5 separate regions of the Homo sapiens genome follow, and regions 1, 2, 3 and 4 are each linked to region 5. Evidence: promoter capture Hi-C in 16 types of primary human blood cells and fetal thymus (Javierre and others, 2016). All regions are on one chromosome and are shown on one strand. Each heading gives the region's core, a stretch centred on a gene start or on the middle of the fragment in contact. The rest is flanking DNA. Distances are from core to core; before and after follow the strand shown.

What was found. Contacts are between HindIII fragments. The CHiCAGO score rates a contact against its expected background, and 5 or more counts as called.
Region 1: a contact is called between a fragment that was not itself captured here and the fragment with the promoter of SFRP5 in region 5, in 4 of 17 cell types (M2 macrophages, M1 macrophages, M0 macrophages and 1 more). The highest score is 8.3, in M2 macrophages.
Region 2: a contact is called between a fragment that was not itself captured here and the fragment with the promoter of SFRP5 in region 5, in 2 of 17 cell types (M1 macrophages and M2 macrophages). The highest score is 5.6, in M1 macrophages.
Region 3: a contact is called between a fragment that was not itself captured here and the fragment with the promoter of SFRP5 in region 5, in 1 of 17 cell types (M0 macrophages). The highest score is 5.1, in M0 macrophages.
Region 4: the fragment with the promoter of CRTAC1 here is called in contact with the fragment with the promoter of SFRP5 in region 5 in 1 of 17 cell types (M2 macrophages); the score reaches 5.2 in M2 macrophages.

The regions. Positions count from the first base shown.
Region 1 is chr10:98,047,933-98,050,632 of GRCh38, forward strand. No RefSeq gene overlaps it. Among named protein-coding and RNA genes, the nearest start is that of CRTAC1, 19 kb to the left of the region's middle. The HindIII fragment of the contact is 1,514 bases long and covers 673-2,186 here.
Region 2 is chr10:98,104,109-98,106,808 of GRCh38, forward strand. No RefSeq gene overlaps it. Among named protein-coding and RNA genes, the nearest start is that of R3HCC1L, 29 kb to the right of the region's middle. The HindIII fragment of the contact is 1,171 bases long and covers 854-2,024 here.
Region 3 is chr10:98,064,836-98,067,535 of GRCh38, forward strand. No RefSeq gene overlaps it. Among named protein-coding and RNA genes, the nearest start is that of CRTAC1, 36 kb to the left of the region's middle. The HindIII fragment of the contact is 1,526 bases long and covers 507-2,032 here.
Region 4 is chr10:98,029,370-98,032,069 of GRCh38, forward strand. CRTAC1 (cartilage acidic protein 1) reads right to left here and starts at 1,252. Exons shown (of 15, transcript NM_018058.7): 1 at 1,080-1,252. The coding sequence starts at 1,103. The HindIII fragment of the contact is 20,576 bases long and covers 1-2,700 here.
Region 5 is chr10:97,770,645-97,773,344 of GRCh38, forward strand. SFRP5 (secreted frizzled related protein 5) reads right to left here and starts at 1,355. Exons shown (of 3, transcript NM_003015.3): 1 at 661-1,355. The coding sequence starts at 1,189. The HindIII fragment of the contact is 8,141 bases long and covers 1-2,015 here.

The DNA of each region.
Region 1 (2,700 bases), core at 180-2,679, 280 kb after region 5:
AGAGAGGCCAGAGGAGAAGAGGCTTTGTGTGTAGCCAAGATGAAAATAAAAGTTGGATCTCCTGATTTGGGGTTCTGCCTTTCCTCCTCTATTTCCACTCCCACAATTAGTTGGCTTCCCAATTCATCATTTTTATTATTTGAGACATGGTCTTGCTCTGTCACCTTTGCTGGAGTGCAGTGGCGTGATCACAGCTCACTGCAGCCTTGACCTGCCTGGGCTCAGGTGATCCTCCCATCTCAGCCTCCTGAGTAGCTGGGACTACAGGCATGCACCACCATGCCCAGCTATTTTTTTTTTTTTGGACTTTTTGTAGAGAGGGAGCTTCACCATGTTGGCCAGTCTGGTCTCAAACTCCCAGGCTCAAGTGATCTGCCCACCTCAGCCTCCCAAAATGGTAGGATTACAGGCCTAAGGCCCTCACCCTAATTATTATTTTATTCATCAAATATTTATAGAGTTCCTACTATGCACTAGGTCCTGTGTTAGGCCCTGGGTCATTGTAGAGGCTCTTGGCACATGTGGGACTATGGTCAAAAGTTATCATTCGAATGAAATATGCTTATTACAATGGATATATGCTGAATAAATGAATAAGTCAGGAGACACCACGTGCTAGCTCTGACTCTAACACTGATGCCTTGGGTCTCCTTTGCCATTCTCTGTAAATGAAGCTTCCAGGCTGATATGCAATGCAAAGACTTAGATTAAGACATAAAGTCTTCAAATTTTAGAACTAGAAAAGACTTTGGCAGGCAAGTGATGTGAAATTTTAGAGGGAAAGTGATCCCTTTGAAAATCAAATGAGATATGGACTCCTTTATCTAAATACACAAAACACTATGCATACAAATGCTGGGGATTCCTAGAACATTTGAAGCCTATTTGTGGACTTCCTAGCAATCCACAGGCCAAGAACCTCACATCTGGGCTAACCTCCCATTATTTGGGGTGAGAAATCTGAGACTCAGAGAAGGGAAGAGAAGCCCTACATCTCACAGCAAATCAGTAGCAAAGTCCATGCCTGAGATCTGGTTCCGTGCTCTCCCGCCACAGACCCCTGACTTACAGGAAGCACATGGAATATGAGGAAACCAGTACTGGCTCCCGGGAACACAGAACTTCAGGATGTCACATGCTGATATTTATTTTCTGTTAATATCTCTCAGGGACAGACAGAGTGGTTCAGACAACCAACTCTGTTTCCAGTGCGAGGCTATATGGCACCTCTGGATGCCTCCTAAAATTGGGCAGTTGGAAAGCTCCAGAGATGGACTGGCAGAGCTGGTGAGTCAAGGATGGAGGGAAGCAGGAAGCAGAGGAGAGTCTGGTGGTCTGGGTACTCAACAGCGAGGCCTCAAGGACAGTCAGCTTCCCTCTGTCCACTGGCTGGTCCCTGGAGTTCAGGGGGCTCTTCTGCCATGGGGCAGTGGTGCACGGTAAGGCAGAGCCTGGTCTCTGGCTATCATGGAAAGAACTAACTTAGCATAGTGCCTGAGAGCAGGGGCACTGGTGCCTCCCTGCTAGGGTTTAGAGTCATGTTGTTCTACTTCCTGGCTGTGCCACCTTGGGCCAATAGCTAACCTCTCTTCCTGATCTCTAAAGTGGGGCCTGTGATGCCTTTACACCATAGGCTTGTGAGAATTACATGAGTTCGTTCTTGCAAAATGCTTAGAACAGAGCCTGACATATAATAAATGCCATACAAATGTATGATAATTCAGGGCATAAAATCCATACTTCCTCAGGCATCAGTTTTCCTCTGCTGGATTCTTTAGAACAAGCCACTACACTTCAAAAAAAGTTACATTTTTAAAAAATCAACTTTATCAAATTATAAATTATATGCAATCATATGTAATAATATGTACCTATTGTAATTGTACATTCAGACAAATTAGTTTTGGTAAATGTATGCATTTGTGTAACCACAACCGCAATCGGGATATAGAATGTTTTCATCACCCCCAAAACTTCTTTTCTGTCCCTCGTCCCAGTCAATCCTCCTTTATCTCCATCTCCAAATGATCATGAAATTTGCCACCAAAGGTTATGGTGGCACATCTCTGTCAATGTGCATTCGCTGGGCACCAAATATATGGATGTCTCCCAATATATGTATGCATTTGTTATATAATATATATTATATATGTCCTGCTATCAGTCTGTATCATACCCACTAGGAAAGCTTACTTCATGTTTTTTTTTAGATAAAAATAAACACAAGAAAATTATTAAGCAAATGGTTAAGATGAGAACCATTGGTGGATTGGTGTAAAGGGAATACAAGAGTTCTTTTGTACAGTTCTTGAAAGTTTTCTGTAAGATTAACATTGTACCAAAATGAAAACTTACAGCAAATTGACCTAAGCAGCAGCCGGTAGAGCTATTGTTGGGCACTTTGCACACTGTCCGTTCTCAGAATCCCCTGGAAAGTTTCTGAACCCTGCCAAAGCCCAGGCCTCGCCCCAGCTCACAGGAATCAGAAGCTCCAGGGGTGGAGCTTTGGGCATCCACTTGGCTCACAGTGAGGGAGCCAGGGTTCCTGAGGGCCATGGGCCTTGGCAGGAGAGGACTCCCTTCAGCTGGCTGAGTCCACACTGGCCTTCAGAGTAAAATCGGCCAGGCTTGAGTTTGGCTAGAGAAGAACTTGCTCAAGTCGTGGGGCAGATGTGTTTGTGAAAATGCTTTGTATCTGTA
Region 2 (2,700 bases), core at 189-2,688, 330 kb after region 5:
CTATTCCATGGTCTACACCCAGGCCACTGCCCCAGGACCACGCTGCAGCTCCATGCCAGTTGGCTTGCCGGCCTCTCTACCCCTCCCTTCCACTCTCCCTTTCTTCTCTCATTTCCCTTCTTTTCTTTCTTCCCTATCCTCCCCTCTTCTCCCCTTCCTGTTCCCTCCCTCCTTCTTTCCTTTTCTTTCTTTCTTTTTCTCTTTCTTTTTCTCTCTTTTCCTTCCTTCCTTCCTTCCCTCCTTCCTTTCCTCCTCTCTCCCTCTACCTCACTGTCTCTCTCTCTCTCTCTTCTTCTCTCCCTCCCTACTTTCCCTCCCTTCTTTTCTTTTTCATTTTTCTTTTTCACTCCTTCCAAATTCCTACAGGCACCTTAGTAAGCACACCATTATCAATACATTTATTCGCACTTACCTAATAGATTTTTTCCATGAAGTCTTTCCGGCTCCCTCAATCAGATGTAAACATTTCCTGCTCAGAACTCTCCCAGCACTTTGAACTTCTCCTATGCCATTAATCATACTTTGCCATGTAATATTTCTAGGTCTACTCTATTGTATGCCCCTGGGGAAAAAGGCTATTTTATTCATCTTTATGTCCCTTCTTCTGCAGTGCCTAGCATGATGCCTTGCACATGTTGACAATGTTTTACATTTATGTGATGTATAACTAGTTTAAGAAGTATTTTCACAAACATTAATGAATAATGTTTGTGAAAATAAGTGAAATAAGGGCCTGAATAAGTGAAATGTTACTCACTAACGTTTGTGAAAAACTTATTCAGACACTAAGTATTTTCTGAACAGATTCGTGTATGAATTCCTTTCTTTTTTTTTTTTCCTTATCATATTCTTAAGCTTGTCTTATCTCCTGTCCAGGAGGCAGGATTGTGCAGTAGTAAGGACACTGACCTTGAAGTTAGACATCTGAATCTGAAGTCTTGTTTTAGCTCTTAATAGCTGGGCTGTCTTAGGCATGTTATTTAACCCTTCTGAACCATAGTTTTATCTATAAAGTGGCCATAACAATATCTTCTTTACAAGATTGGTGATGATTAATTGCAATTACTTGTGAAAACATCTGGCGCATAGCAGATCATTTTAAAATACTCATTAAATGGAATTCTTCCCTTCCCCCAACTCTTCACCTCCATTAGAATGTCCCTTAAGGACAAACTGGCTTTTTAAATTCTTTCTCTCCAGATTTTTATGCTGTGTCTTGGTGCATTGCATACAAAGATGTGCAGAATACATTTTTTGTGTACTCTCAAAAATAGTCGATGTCATAAGATGAAACACGTATGGAAAACATTCAAACTGAAATGAACAGGATTCCTTGTTGCAAGGGCCATACACCCAATTCAAACAAACTTGAGGGGGAGAAAATAATTTATTGACTTTCCTAATTGGGAAGTTCTAGGGTAGATCTGCCTTTCAGCAAAGTGGTGTCCAGGGGTTAAAATACTGAAGACAGGCCAGCTCCGGGTGGGCCCTGCCTCTATGGCTTTATTCTCAGGCAAAATATCTCCAGCTGGCGGGAAGGATGGCTGGGGGCTTGTGAGTCAAAGGAGAGAAGCCCTTTCTCTCTTTGTGTCCATGTGCAAATCTCATGGAAGAATTCTCACCGACCCTGCTTGGGTTCTCTGCCCACATCTGAACTAGACATAGGTACAAAAGATGTAGTACTATGGCTGGCTCAGCCTGGGTCACATGCCCACTCCTGTGGCCAGTGGGGAAAGACACAGTAGTTTAAAGCCTCTCAGACTACAAGGAATGAGGGAGACGTAGTTCTTCCAAATGAAGGGGTGCCAAAAGACAAAACCAACTTGTTTGGTGCACACATAGAATATAACATGCTATTTCCCACAAGATGCCCAAAGCCGTCTGCTTTGTGTTATTTAAAGGGCCCAGTTTTATTTACCCATTAATTTCCTCATTCACTGTTACTGGAAAAATAAAACCATGCTGAGTATCTCCTAAGGCCCAGACCCAGTGCCAAGGTTTGGGGTAAAGCAGTGACAAAGTCAAGCTTGGCCTTCCTCTCACAGATCTTCCAGTCCAGTGAGGGCTCAGGGACCTCTCACTGCATGGACCACATTTCCTGAAGTTCCCTCCACTAACCATGGTCTTTGGCTTCAAGAAATGAGTTCCACAGGGTTCCATTTATAGTGTATGCACTGGAAGGAGCATCACTTTATCTCATTCTCACCTGTTTGGTGAAACTGCCTTTGCAAAAGTTATGACAGTGAGAAAAATCAGACCTAACTGACTCTGTCTTGTTTCTAACCTCCAAGCCGCACTTGTTCATTCCTGGGCTTAGGCCAGGCTAACTATGGAAGGATTAAGTTCATAATTTAACTTTGAAACAAAGATAATAACAGCCCTTTCCTGAAACAAACCCCCTCCTTCCTTGGGGATCAGACCTCTTTTGTAAAACTAACAAATTAGCCACAAGATTAGAAATTATGGCTCAGAAGTCATACAGCTAGAGGCCACAAGATCCTTAACTCCCCAGTTGCTCCTATAGAGGACATCACTATTGTAAAATCTAAGATTGGTGTTCAAGATATTTTTCACATCTTGCACTCGATGAACCAGCTGACACCACCCAAATGGATAAACTGGCTGAGCTGGTCTTGTGGCTCCTACCCAGGAACTGTGACTCAGTGCAAGAAGACAAGCTATGAATCCCTGTGCTTTCAT
Region 3 (2,700 bases), core at 20-2,519, 290 kb after region 5:
CTGTGTATATTTGCCCCGGCTCTTATCACTATCTAACCTACCATATGTTTTTATTTATTGTGTTTATTGTCTCTCTTTCCTACTAAGGTAGCATTCCATGAGAGCATTAGCAGGATTTTCGTCTATCCTGGTCAGTGCTGTATTCCCAAAGCCAAACAGTGCCTGGCACCTGATAGCTATTTGTTGAATGAATAAAGAGTGGCTCTTGTTCAGGGTAATCTTTGGGCTCAGTGTCTCCAGCAGCTATGTGGACCTCAGGAAAAGGGCTCCCTTTTTTAGAGCTTGAGAAATTCACATCCCTTTCCAGGAGCTATAGAAGTAGGTGCTATGGTGCAAGGATTAATAGCATAGGATTTGGCATTAGACAGACTCAAGTACTGATTCCAGCTCCATCACTTACAAGTTGTGTGACCTTAAGCAAAGCACTTAACCTCTCTGTGCCGGGGCTCCCTCATCAGTGAAATGAGGACAAAAATCTACCACTCAGAATGGTTTTAAGGTTGAGAAGCTTCCGATGACCCCAAGTAAGGCTTGATGAAGACTTTTCCTTACTTAAGGGTCAGCACTCACTAATTGTTTATCAACAAACAATTTTTTCACCTGAGGGAGAACTTCAGCTCTGCCTACTTCCCCAGGTCCTCTGGGCCTTCTCCTATGATTCCTCACCTCCAGTCATTCCCCCTGCCCGAAGAGCTGTAAGGCTTTGGAATTCCTTAACTCTAGGTCTCCATCATAACTGATAACTATCATTTTCATGGGGGATGATTGCTTTGCATACACGGTTATACAACTTAAATAATTAGAGCTGTATGATGATGGGGACTGTGTATCTGGTCCCCTGCTATGCCCCCAGGGTCTGATGCTACGTGAGTACACAGTCAACATTATGAAGTCATCACAGCCAACTGGAAGGTTGATATCATTCCTATTTTACAGATGTGGAGACTAAGGCTTGCCCACAGTCACAGATTAAATAAGTGGTAGAGCCAAGACTTCAACCCAGATCTGTCTGATCCCCAAACCTGAGAGTTTTCTATTCTATGAAGCTGCCTGAGGAAGGTGGCTCTTTCACATTATCCTCACACAAAAGGAGAGCCCAGGTGTAGGCACAGACTCATGGTGGTCTCAGGACTCATCTGGTACCCTGGTTGTAGAAAGTATCAAGGTATTCAGATTCAGTGGTGGTGGGGAGAGTATGGCTTCACAAACACTGTGCCTTTAGCCCATTGACTTTTATTGCCAGTATGTTCTTTTCCAGATTGGGTGAATCATCCTTGGTTGGCGGGTAGACCTCTCTTAATTTTTTTAGCTGCCCCTGAATTCTTGACAACGTTGAGTCATTCCTTGGCAGGACATTGCCAATGTTGTGGCAATTGGGACAATTGGTGTGAGCCGAATGGCTTAGTTATCTAACCTATAGGTTTTCTTTAAACACAGCACAGAGTTTAACTCTGTTCTAGGGAGTGTTTGAAAGAGCGGTGGCAGTTCTTTAATCCTTGCAGAATGCTTTCAAAATCTCAAGGGTGGGTGGAGGTAGGTGGAAGACAGAGGGGGTATATTTGTAAACTGTAAAGGATGTCTTTTAACAATCCAAGCTGGGCTGTTTGTGCTTGAAATAAGACTCAGGCAGGCACACAAATACACAAACACCCTGTGATGAAAAACCTCAGTCTTTATTGTACAAACAGCTGTGTTTGCCTTTAAATGATGCAATTAAAATAATGTTAAGGATAAGTAGAGTGTGGCCTTAGCTAGGGTCCTATTTGAGAATCAGAGGAAGAGCTGCTGATGGGGCATGGTTTTTGAGAGACATCTCAAAGGCTGTTCTTTCTCAAAAACCTCCCACCCTCATTCTGCTTTGGGGGCTGTGACTTTTCACCATTGGCCACTAGTAGAAGGTATAACATTGGGCCTTTTATCAAAGATCTGGGGTATATATAGGTGATGAGTAAGTGGTAGCATATTAATGCACTCGTGCACAGTGACACTCAGTCATTTTAGGTGTCAAGTTAGCAAGCTGATGCCCTGGGAAAGCTTGGAGAATACAGGTGATAAGCTATGGTTTGGCTGTGAAGTCTTGTTGCTTTTGTTCACCCAGCATATTTTTTCCTTTTTTTTGAGACAGAGTTTCACTCTTGTTGCCCAGGCTGGAGTGCAAAGCACAATCTCACCTCATTGCAACCTCTGCCTCCCGGTTTCAAGCAATTCTCCTGCCTCAGCCTCCTGAGTAGCTGGGATTACGGCACCCACCACCACGCCAGGCTAATTTTTTGTATTTTTAGTAGAGAAGGGGTTTCATCATATTGGCCAGGGTGGTGTCGAACTCATGACCTTAGGTGATCCACCCGCCTCAGCTTCCCAAAGTGCTGGGATTACAGGCGTGAACCACTGCGCCCAGCAGCATATTTTTTTCTAGACATAGGATCCTGATTTTAATTTGGGGAACCATCCCTCCTCTAAGCTTAGTCCATGGAATTTCAGTGGGCATGTGACCTAGGCTTAGCCAGTCAGAGCTCTGCATTCTCTTGGGCACTGTAATTGGATCAAGAATAGGCATGTGACTTGATCCAAGCCAATAGGAGGCCTTATCTAGAATTGTGCTGGCGCTATTGGGACAGAGCTGTATTCCTGCAGGTTCCTAAGCTGGTGGAATGCAAGGCTGGAACACCTGGGTGGGAGTGAAAGACGTAATGGAGGAAG
Region 4 (2,700 bases), core at 2-2,501, 260 kb after region 5:
AAGTCCTGCACCCATCCCAGAAGACACCTCAAGTGCAACTCAAGAATGTGTCCTGTCAGGAGAACGGAAGCATCTCCTGGGATGTGCAGAAGCCACACTGGGTGCACCCACCAGCAGCAGCAGCGGCGGCGGCGGCGGCGGCGGCGGCGGCGGCGGCGGCAGCAGCAGCAATATTCATTAGTCATTCCTGGAGGAAGCCCCCCCAGCTCTCAACCCTAGGAGAATTTCCCCGCCACTCTGGGAGGCTTCCATCCAGGCTGGGATGACTTTGGATTCTTGAGTTGCTTTCTGCAGAAGCGGGACTAACCAGGGCTCCCAACTACTGTACTGCAAAGAAGCGCGCTGCATTGCTGGGCATGCCCCCAAGCCCGGCCTGGCTGCCCCATCAAAGCCTCCAAGTGCCCCCACGGGGTCGAGGAGGACTCAGGGTTCCCCTGGAATGCCTGAAGCCGGCTTGCCTCAGGCAGCCTGAAGGGAAGACCACACCTCGTCCAGCATAAGGCGGCTAGCAGCTACGCCGCGCGCGGGGCTGGCTCCCGGAGCTCTCTGCCACCCAGCGCTGTGCCCGGGAACTCGGCTTCCCAGGGGAGGAAGAGCCAGCCCGCGGGGCTCTTCCCCAGCCTGGAAGCGTAGGCACTCGGCCGAGGCCAGTGGCTTCCCAGGCCCGGGTCTCAGCCTGGCTGACTGGGAGACTCTCCCGATAGCCCGGCACATCCCTCCTCACCCGCTCCGCCCCCTCCAGGCCCCAGAGGCCCCCTCCCCTGACAGCTGACCTCCAGTGCGCCCCCAACACTTTCTCTGCCAGCTGCTGGCTGTCGCCCCCACACATCAGCTCCCACCTCTCCGCCACCTCCAACCCGGCCGCCGCCTCACCCCCAGCCCGCGGGGGAGGCTCCGCGCGCCAATCGAGTCCAGCGCCTCCCAGCAAGTTAGGAGCGAAGCCGCCGCCTTCGCGATCCCAGTCTTCCCGGGTTCCCGGGCGGCGTCCCCGCCACCCTTGCGGGCGGATCCGGGGGGGCGCGCAGAGCTGGAGAAACTTTCTCCGCCTTAGGGTGGGGGGCACCGGTGCAGATACTCACGCCGGGGTCAGCGCTCGGAGCCATCCTCCCGCTCTCGGCCCCGCCGCCTAGGGGCGTGGGAAGCGGGCGCTCGCTGCCGCCTCTGCCGCCGGCGCCGCCGCCTGCTTGCTCCCAGCCCCGGTCCCGGGCTGGCCTCGAGCCTCCCGCCCCGACGCCGCGCGCTCGCTTTATACAACTCCACTCGAGCGCGCCCGGTCTTATGTAAAGGCTGGCGGAGGCCCGCAGCCAATGGCGCGGCAGCTGGAGCCGGGGGCCCGGGGTGGGGGGCGCCGGCGCGGCCAATCGCGGCCCCGAGAGCCCGGAGAGCCGGGCGTGGGGAGGGAGCGCCTCCCCGCGCTGATTTAGGAGCCGGGATTGCGGTGGCAGCAGCCGGCAGCCAGGCTGGCCCGGCGCGGCGCGGCGGCCACTGGGGTGGGCGGCGGCGAAGGCGGCGGCGAGGGCGGGCGCCCCCCGCGCCCCGCCACTGCGTCGCGTAACCTTCAGGCGGCAGCGAGGCCTGGCGAGGAGGGGAGAGGGCGCCTGGCTGGGCGCTGGGGGCCCCAGGCCGGAGGGAAGCGAGGGTCCCTCGGGAGGCAGCGCAGGGAAGGAACGCGAAGGGGGAGGGGAGGGCGGCGAGCCCCAGGACCCCGCGGCCACCCCTGCGCGCAGGACCGAGGGTGGAGGCGGGAGCGGCTGCACTGCCTTCCCATTTCCCCCCAGGATAGCGATCTGGCGTCGCCGGGCCGGGCCAAAGCGGCCGAGCGAGCCGCGCTGATGGCGAGATTTCGACTACGGAGCTAGAGCCGAGCCGATCTTTATCCAGCCTGGGGACGTGTCCGAGCACCTCCCGGGGACTGCTCAGTATGGAGAGCAGGGCTCCGCGACGGCCCCCGCAGGCGGGGAGCGGGCGAGCGCAGCTCGGAGATCAGGCGCGCAGAGGCCCAGGCGGCTGCGGGCAGCGCCGCTTCTACCCCACCCCGTCCCCACCAGCAGTGCCCCCACCCCATCCCACCTAGTCCCTACCCCAGCAGTGGCCGAGTCGGGCCTGGCCCACCCGCTCCTGCCGCCTGCGTCCTACTAGCCTCCCTCACCGCTTTGATCACAGGTACTGCCCGCCTCTCCTCGCCCCCAACCCGCTGCCTTGGTGGTGGTGGGGGGATGGTTTCTGCCTCTCTGGACCAGGGGAATGGGGGTGCTAAGCGCCAGAAAAACACACTTGATCAGCAATGCTCAAAATACCCCTGTTCAGGCAGGAAACTGGCCTTGGTGGGTCACACTCTGAAGGCAAATCCTTTATTTTACGCCTAGAATAGAGCCTGGCACATAGTAGGCGCTCAGTGTTTATTGAATGAATTCTGAGCTTCCATGAGTGAGGTCTTTGGGTTTCTGAAAGCCAGGTAAAGGGGCCACAGAAGAGAAAGACTTGGGAATCCACCATCGGAGAGGGAAGGAGCTAGGACTGTTTTCCCATCCGTTGACGCTTTTGTGACCATCACCCACTAGTCTGGCTTCTGGGCCCTTGACTCTTAGAATGATTTGAATGTGTTCTTTTATAGAGGGCCACACATCCAGCCTCTGGCCCCTGTTATCCACAGATTTTGAGCAGAACTACCAGGACCTAGTCTGGGCTCTGTTTTCAGGT
Region 5 (2,700 bases), core at 105-2,604:
TTGCCTAAGGGCTTCTCTTCAGGGGCAGAGCCTAATCTGCTCTTCCTTCCGCACTGAGCCTTACCCGAATGACTCCCAGCCAGGGGAACTGGGGAAGAGGGTGGAGATCTTAGGGTTCCAGGTACAGAAAACGGGGACGCAGATCATAGTCCAGAACATTCTTAGTCCCCAGTCTTTCTCCACATCCCTTCCCTCACCTCTCCTCTCTTCCCAAGGTCCCAACACGGAGTGGGGATGATGCTTGCTTTGGTGCCTCGGGATCCAGGTGAAAGGCATTGTTTAACGACCCCAGGCATTCTTGGGCTGAGAGGGGTCATAAGGCATTTATCAGGACGTCCCAGGATTGGGGGGACGGCATTGGGGGATTCTCAGCAGCTTGGTTGGATGGGTACTGAGAGGGGTGCCAGGGGTTTCCAGGGAACGAGAGCCAGAGGGAAGGTCTGGAGCCGCCGGGAGGCACTATGCTGCCACTCCCTGGGGAGGTGGGAAGGCGGGAAGGCTGCGGGGGATAATTCCGGGGACGCTGGGCTGAGCTAGGACAGCGTGTGTGTGTGTGTGTGGGCGGAGGGGGGGAGCTGCACCTCTTGGGGGGTTCGCAGAGCTGTGCTAGGGGAGCTGCAGGGCCGTCGGAGCGCGCGGGGACGGCGGCGGCGGCGCTACCTGGAGGCGCGGTGGCGGGCAGGTGCCCGAACTGCACGGCGATGCAGAGGTCGTTGTCCAGGGGGAACTTGTGGCAGTGCAGCATCTCAGGCCAGGGGAAGCCGTAGGCCTCCATGAGCGGCGCGCAGCCGGCGCGCACGGCCTCGCACAGCGAGCGGCACGGGTAGATGGGCCGGTCGAGACAGACGGGCGCAAAGAGCGAGCACAGGAAGACCTGCGTATCCGAGTGGCAGCGCTTGGCCAGCAGCGGCAGCCAGCTGCTCGCCTGCTGCTTCACTTCGGCCAGGCTCTCGTGCTCCAGCAGGTTGGGCAGCCGCATGCGCTTGTAGCCCACCGTGTGGCAGAGCGGCAGGTCGGCAGGGATGTCAAGGCACTGCGGCGGCTTGGAGTAGGAGCGGCCGTGCAGCGGCTCGGCCTGCCAGCCATAGTAGTCGTACTCCTCGCAGCGCGCCGGCGCCCAGTGCAGCGCCCCCAGCAGCAGCGCCAGCGCGGCCGTCCGCACGCCCCCCCCCGCCGCCGCCGCCCGCATGGCTGCGCCCTCTCCAGGTGCGCGCCGCGCAGCCCCCCGACGCTCGGTGCCCGGCGGCCCAGGTGTTCCGGCGTGCGCCCCCGGCCCTGACTCTACCCAGCCGCCGCCGCCGCCGCCGCGGAGGTCGCCCAGGTGGGTGGCAGCCTGCGCTGCGGGCGCCCCGACTGATCCTGGCGCCTCCCACCTCGGGGCTCCAGCCCGGGCCTCGCCGTGCGCCCCAGCCAATCTCCGGCCGCCTGGCCCCAGCTCCAAGGCGGGGAGGCAGTGGGGGCGGCCCTCAGCCCCTCCCGCACCCTGCCCGAGCGTCCCGCCCAGCGCCAGGTCTTGCGCCCCTCTCCCGGCTCGGCTCCCCTGCCGCAGCCCTGGCCTCGCCCAGCGTTTCTCCCCAGGGCTCCCTGCCTCCCTGGGCATTTTCCTCGACCCTCGCCTTCTCCATCCTTCCTCCTTATCTCTCTCCGCCACAGCCTCTCCTGTTCCTTTTCTCACTCACTTCACTTGCTTATCTCTCTGCCTTGGCTTTTCTCCCTCTGCTCTGTTTTCTCTTCCCCGACACCTCGGTTCCTCTTCTCCCTGGTGGGAGGCTCGTGCCACCCCACACCCTGGATCTTCTGGTCCTCCTGGCAGGTCTTCATTGAGCTTGGTGCCAGGCCCCATGCTGGCTGCTGGGGAATCAAAGATGGATATGACCCAGAACCCACCTCCAGGGCCAGGATAGTCTAGTGGGGGTGAAGGTAATCATAGCTTCTATTTAGTGAGCTCTTACTACCTGCCAGGGACGGTGCAAGGTGCAAGGTGCGGTGCAAGGTGCGGTGCAAGGTACGTTCCAAGCTTATCAGCTATTGCTAATGATAGCCAATACTTAGTGGGTGCTAATTGTGTGCCAAGTCTGATCTGAGCACATTGCATAAACTCCCTCAGCTAATTCTCACAATAAGGCTAGATGGTGGGTAGGTACTATTATTGTCCCCACCTTACAGATAAAGATCCTGCGGCAGAGAGGTTAAGCACAGATTAGAGCTGGGATTTGAACCCAGATAGTCTTTTTCGAGAGTCAGAGCCCAGAAACAACCAGGAGGCCTGGATTCTGAGTCTGTAGGCCTAATGACCAAGGGGATAGGGAGTTCAGAGAAGTGGAGTAACTGGCCCTTGGCCACACAGCTCATATGTGAAGGAGCTAGGATTTGAATCCAGATGTTGGGCTACAAAGGCCAGGGCTTAACCACTCTGTGGTAAGATAACTTCCAACCCATGGTAGGGAACACAGTGGGAAGAGGGGGAATTGATGGTGTGTCTGAGCAGGGCACCCAGGCAAGCATCAGAGGGGAGGGGACCTTCAGGAGCCCCATGCTTGGTGTCTTTCTCTCCTGTCTGAGTCCTGCCTTTCATTGGCTCTCCCTTGAGAGGAATTTGGACTGGAGGCTTGAAGGGAGGGGAATTCCTTCCTGAGAGCCTAGCCTGACACCTGACCTCCCAGTCTTTGGTGGGGAGGGTACCTTGGGGAGGTGTCTCCT